Linked DNA regions of Homo sapiens: region 2 is linked to region 1. The links are contacts of gene promoters, found by promoter capture Hi-C in human tissues and cell types (Jung and others, 2019). All regions are on one chromosome and are shown on one strand. The core of a region is centred on a gene start or on the middle of the fragment in contact, and the rest is flanking DNA. Distances in the headings are between cores, read along the strand shown.

Evidence for each region. The method cuts DNA at HindIII sites, captures the fragments that hold promoters and counts their contacts. A contact is called where the count stands out against the background at its distance.
Region 2: a contact is called between a fragment that was not itself captured here and the fragment with the promoter of LGR5 in region 1, in 5 of the 25 tissues and cell types used here (bladder, liver, mesenchymal stem cells and 2 more).

What each region holds. Positions count from the first base shown.
Region 1 is chr12:71,438,072-71,441,260 of GRCh38, forward strand. It overlaps LGR5 (leucine rich repeat containing G protein-coupled receptor 5), which reads left to right and starts at 1,727. Exons shown (of 18, transcript NM_003667.4): 1 at 1,727-2,221. The coding sequence starts at 2,010. All of the region lies in intron 2 of LOC124902962 (a long non-coding RNA gene), which reads right to left. The HindIII fragment of the contact is 8,401 bases long and covers 1-3,189 here.
Region 2 is chr12:71,513,137-71,516,325 of GRCh38, forward strand. The region is part of intron 2 of LGR5 (leucine rich repeat containing G protein-coupled receptor 5); the gene reads left to right. Among named protein-coding and RNA genes, the nearest start is that of LGR5, 75 kb to the left of the region's middle. The HindIII fragment of the contact is 4,830 bases long and covers 1-3,189 here.

The sequences.
Region 1 (3,189 bases), core at 477-2,976:
AAAAAGGGAGGGTAGGAGAAGGGTGTGGGATTAAAAACTACATATTGGGTACAACATACACTACTTGGGTGATGAGTGCACTAAAATCTCAAAATTCACCGCTGTATAATTCATCCATATAACCAAAACCCACTTGTACCCCCAAAAGCCATTGAAATTTTTTTTAAAATGTTTAAAAAAAGGAAGAAAGACACAAGGTAGGCATTCTTTAAATGTGGAAAGAATGGCTAAGGGAAGCAAGAATAATGTGAGAATAAGCACAGAGTAGCAGTGAATGTGGTATACATAGGGAAAAGTGAAGGAAAAGGGTGTCCAGAGACGCGGGCTCTCTGTACTGATTGTGCGGAAACCGGAGTTAACTCACAATTTTCAGTGGCACTAGCACTGTCAAGTGCTTTGTTTGTTGTTTGTTTTTTCACCCAAGAAAGGAAGATGTTCAGACTACAGATTGTGGTCAAGAAATTATATATTTTAGGTGAACAAACAGCGAGGTTTGGACATGAAGGAAGGCACATACACTGCACAGAGAAACAGCTCTTCCCAACTCTAAAATTTAGACGTTTATTTGGGAAATTTTGTTGGGCAGTCTAAATGCAGGAAGATTAAAAAGGACTTGGAAAATCAACAGGGTATCCTGCCTTCATGATGCTGTGAGGCATTGTGCCCCAGAGTGAAAACTGCATTTTTGTGAGTTGGTGTGGCAGGCTTGGAATACCACCTCTTTCAGCAGCTCACTCAGGTCTGGCGAGGGCTATTTGTACCTCAACGAGGGCTTCTCTCCAAGAAAGCCCTGAATCCTTTTCCTCCTTTTTCCTGCAGATTCACTATAGGACACTTTTTGAAGCAAGAGCATGCATTTTCCCCCTGGCGCTCTGCAGCGGTTCTCAGAGCCCAGTGTCACTCACATAGGTGGGACTGCTCTCAGTTCAGAGAGCGCTGGGACACTTAAGATGAAAAGTCCCTGGAAGTTAGCAAACAGCCATCTGTCACTCTGGCATCGATTTACTAAAAGTGACTTCTAGGGTATTCTAAACCACTTTTAAAAAACAAATGAGTCACTTCGACTTCCTCACCCCGCAAGAGATAGGAAGGCAGCAGTGGAGTGCTCGCTCAGGAGCTGTATTTGTTTAGCGATTAGCCTAGAGCTTTGATTTTAGGGCAAAAGCGAGCCAGACAGTGCGGCAGACGTAAGGATCAAAAAGGCCACCTATCATTCGCCGGGGACGCCTGCCTCCTTACCCTGATAACGTAACTATTTCTCTGCATAGGATTTTAGTTTTTGTGTTTTTGTTTTGTTTTATTCTGTTTAATCACTTCAAGTATCTCATCCATTATTTGAAGCGGGCTCGGAGGAAACGTGCCGCATCCTCCAGTCCTTGTGCGTCTGTTTAGGTCTCTCCGAAGCAGGTCCCTCTCGACTCTTAGATCTGGGTCTCCAGCACGCATGAAGGGGTAAGGGTGGGGGGGTCCCCTATTCCGGCGCGCGGCGTTGAGCACTGAATCTTCCAGGCGGAGGCTCAGTGGGAGCGCCGAGAACTCGCCAGTACCGCGCGCTGCCTGCTGCCTGCTGCCTCCCAGCCCAGGACTTGGGAAAGGAGGGAGGGGACAAGTGGAGGGAAAGTGGGGCCGGGCGGGGGGTGCCTGGGAAGCCAGGCTGCGCTGACGTCACTGGGCGCGCAATTCGGGCTGGAGCGCTTTAAAAAACGAGCGTGCAAGCAGAGATGCTGCTCCACACCGCTCAGGCCGCGAGCAGCAGCAAGGCGCACCGCCACTGTCGCCGCTGCAGCCAGGGCTGCTCCGAAGGCCGGCGTGGCGGCAACCGGCACCTCTGTCCCCGCCGCGCTTCTCCTCGCCGCCCACGCCGTGGGGTCAGGAACGCGGCGTCTGGCGCTGCAGACGCCCGCTGAGTTGCAGAAGCCCACGGAGCGGCGCCCGGCGCGCCACGGCCCGTAGCAGTCCGGTGCTGCTCTCCGCCCGCGTCCGGCTCGTGGCCCCCTACTTCGGGCACCATGGACACCTCCCGGCTCGGTGTGCTCCTGTCCTTGCCTGTGCTGCTGCAGCTGGCGACCGGGGGCAGCTCTCCCAGGTCTGGTGTGTTGCTGAGGGGCTGCCCCACACACTGTCATTGCGAGCCCGACGGCAGGATGTTGCTCAGGGTGGACTGCTCCGACCTGGGGCTCTCGGAGCTGCCTTCCAACCTCAGCGTCTTCACCTCCTACCTGTAAGTACTTCCCCACGTCACTCCGGGAGAGAGACTAAGAGGGGAAGGAAGGTTCGTCCAAGGCGAGGCTGGAGGCTCCTCGGCGCCCGCCTGCTCGTGGGGGAGGGGGGCGAGTTTGTCAAGGGCATCCTGGCCAGGCCTGTTAGGGCCCCCAGAGAAATGCACGTGTCTCGGGGAGTAGCGTGCCGGCACTTTCTGGACCCGCAGAGAAATGGCTTCGAGTGCAACCCGGGAAAGCGCTGCTGCGCCGCAGCTTCCCAGTCCAGCGCTAGAAACATCGCAGGGCGAATTCCTGCAAATGCAGGCATTTGCGTGCGGAGTGGACATTTGTGACCCAGAGCCTGGTACCCAAAGGCAGGCTGCCATCTGGTCCCCGCCCCAACCGCCTCTCTGCGTCTAGTCGCATTCCACGAAAAGATGGTCTGTAGAAAGTTTCCCCAAAGGAGAAACAACTTGCCCAGCTCCAAAGGGTTTTTAGTCTGCATCCCTTGCACTGTGACGTGATGTAACCTTTTTGGGGTTTTTTCCTCTTTTCCTCCCTTCCTTCCTCCCTTCTTCCTTCCTTCCCTCCCTCCTTTCTTTTTATTTTCTTTCTTTTTTAACGGCGTGATTAAAATGTGGCAACCACAAACCCCGATTAGAGCTGCCAGAACGTTATCTTTACCTTTGGCTGCCCGCGCCGCCCTTTGAAGTGCCCGCGGCCGCTGTGTAATCTTTAACCATCTCTTCCCCCGGGGAGGAAAGGGGAAGTGGGCTGAAGGCTGTTGGGCTGGTAAACAGCGGCACCGACACCCAAAGGGAGACCTGAAGCTCTCTATCATCCCTGGGGGATTCTCCCACCCCTTCTCTCCCCACTGCAACTTCCAAAGCCCTGAGGCGGCGGCTCATTGCGTAATTTTTTCTGTGGAAAACCCAGGCCCGAAGGTAACAGGTAGTTGGGTGAACGCGGTGACCCAGGAGGAACCCTA
Region 2 (3,189 bases), core at 477-2,976, 75 kb after region 1:
CTAAAATTTGAGTACCACTAAGCAGAGCAGAAAAAAAGAAAAGGTGTGAGGACAGAAACTTGAGGAACATCTATGGTTGAGCAATGAAGACTAAAAGAGAGCCTAGCAAAAGGAAGAAGAGATGACCAGTCATAGTGGTAAGAGTAGTAAGATTGTGCTGAATCTGAAAGGCAGTGAGAGGAGTTTAAATAAAAAGCAATGGGCAATGGTTTTCTGATAGCCAATGCCTCAAGTGATACAGCCATTGTGTCCCTGCATTTTCCTGTTTTAGGTCAGGGTTGCTCCTGACCAACCTAAGCTTAAGACCAGCCTTCCTTTAACCAGAGTAATAATTAAAAACCCCCAATTTGGGGTCAAAATGCTATATTTGAACCAAACTTTCTTCTGTGAACTTTTCTACATAGTGTGAGCAAATAACCTCCCTTTGGCCCATTCTGCCATCTGTAAATGGAGATGATGCCAATTGTTTAATGTGATTGTTATAAACAAATAGCATCATGCCCATAAAGTACTGAATATTGTGCCCTAGCATTTATGGACTGTTTGATAAATGGTAGCTACTATTTATATGTCCAAAAGCACTATATGTGGCATATTGAAAGTGCTCTAAGAAATTGCTGAATTTAAGTTTGATATGTAACAAAGAAGGAATATTCCTCAGCTGTTTCTAGTCTGGTTTTGTGACTAGCTATCTTGGAATAGTTATGCCAGATCTGAAGCAACTGAGGCAGTATGGCCAGCTGCCTTTGGAAACAAGATCAAACGATCAATAAATATCAGTTGAGCTCCATACTCTGTGCATGCAATAAGACTCTTGAGCTTAGGAGTCTATAATCAGACTACTTATAAAAGGGTACCAAATGAGCTAGGCAGAGTGGTGCGTACCTGTAGTCCCAGCTACCAGAGAGGCTGAGTTGGGAGGATGGATCACTTAAGCCCAGGATCTTAAAAAACAACAACAACAACAAAAACAAACAAACAAACAAAAATAACACCTTTAAAAGAAAGGGTAGAGGGTAGAAAATCAACCATTATAGGCTACATTGTATAGAATGTATCTTATAGGAGAGCTGTTAACCGAGATGGTTAAGGAAGATTCCATAAAGGAATTAAAATTGAACTTCCTTAGTCTGGTTAAAGAAACCACAGGGGCAGGGCACGGTGGCTCACGCCTGTAATCCCAGCACTTTGGGAGGCCGAGGCAGGTGGATCACGAGGTCAGGAGATCGAGACCATCCTGGCTAACACAGTGAAACCCCGTATCTACTAAAAACATAAAAAATTAGCCGGGCGTGGTGGCGGGCGCCTGTAGTCCCAGCTACTCAGGAGGCTGAGGCAGGAGAATGGCTTGAACCCGGAAGGCGGAGCTTGCAGTGAGCCCAGATCGCGCCACTGCACTCCAGCCTGGGCGAAAGAGCAAGACTCCCTCTCAAAAAAAAAAAAAGAAAGAAAAAAAGAAACCACAGGGCCCTATGCACATTAAAGTATCTCCTTATTGACTTGAAAGAGTTCATTTACTCAGTCCAGTGGTCTTAGTCCTTAACAATTCTTAGCCCATGAACCTTGAAATCTGAATGTTTTTATTATATCAAATAATGAAAGCAAAATGCACAGCTCATGAATACACAGTTTAAGAAAGAAAGCTTTTTGGCTGGATTTGACAAATTGGATATGCTTAACACAATGACGGCATCACTTGAGGCATTGGCTAGAACAATGGAAGGGGGTAGATACAGTTTTTGAAAATTGCAATTTTTCAAGGAGTATTAGGAAAGATATTTTTTCTCAAATGGGGAGAAAATTAGTTGATGAAATGTCATGATTCTTATATCCAAGGCACTAAATTGGCTTCTGCAAATCTTACCAAAGATGAACACAAGAAGGTTAAGCTCTTACGTATCTGGTCCCATCTGACCAGCAGGGGCACCTTGTAAAAGAAAACCTACCATGGTGGGCTCAGTCAATTGCTGCTGTCATGCATTACTGCAAGTTGAGGCAAATTACATCTTACTATAAGTTTCATCATATTTCTAATTCTTGATATGACTCAGATACTTGGCTCCTGTATTGATAAACCAAAGCCAAACCTATAAATGTAGTTGGCCCTAAAAGCAACAAAAGCAAATTAATTAATTGAATTGAATCATGAATATCAATTTTAATAGACTATTATACTGGTTTCATCACTTATGTATCTTTTGAGAGTCACTAATTATATTATCATAGTTTTGGCTAACTTTATTTAGGACAATATTTTTCCAAATGAGAATATTTTGATACTTTATAAAAGAATAAAAGACTTTTCAGAAATTTTACATTTAAATGATAGTTTAACAGCAGTTAATTGTTCAGGTAAATTACAACTCCAAAGAGTGGGAAAATTCAGAAATAGTCACAGAACTGCTGAAATCAATATTGGAAAATCACAGAGAAGGAAAACAGTACCAGAAAACTGGAAATAGGCAAATATCATCCAGATTTTTAGAATGGAAAAAGAGGGAAAACTATTACCATTAAGCCTGATAGCCCTCATCAAATTTCTAGAAGAAATTAATTTAACATTTATAGACTGTATGCCCTCTCACTCTCGTGTGCTTTGTAAAAGTTAGAAAATAAAGCGGCAATTTCTAGGAGCCAGCATGAATTTACTAAGTAGTCTGATGAAATGTTTTCTTTTAAATCACAAGAATTATCATGTTCAAGTTCATTCTACTCCAATTATTTAAGTAGCACTGCTATTACATGGCTTCCATGCTCCATAAGAAGACTAGACTACATTTAAATAAATAAGGAAAGCAACAATGTTTTTCACTTTCCATAAAACCTTTTGGAGCTTTGGTGTCTTCATCTACAAAATGTGGACAATAATAATCCCTGACCTATCTCTATGATATAAATTATGAGAGAGTGCTTTTTACAATGTTAATGACATGTTATAATAAAGTAATCTTACAATAAACAAGAAGAAAAAGGGAGGAAAAGGAGAATGAGGGAGGAAAAAATAACAGTAGGAAATGCAAGTGTAATTTTTTTTTAAATTTGAGCGTAGAAAAAGACCTTCATGAAAGAACCGTTTCATTTTTTTTAATTTAAGGGAAATAAGGCCCAGGAAAGTTAAGTAACTTGTGTTGTCTCACAGCAAGTTAATGGTGAGAAGAAAGAAAATCAAAAAGGGAAAGAAAAAAATAA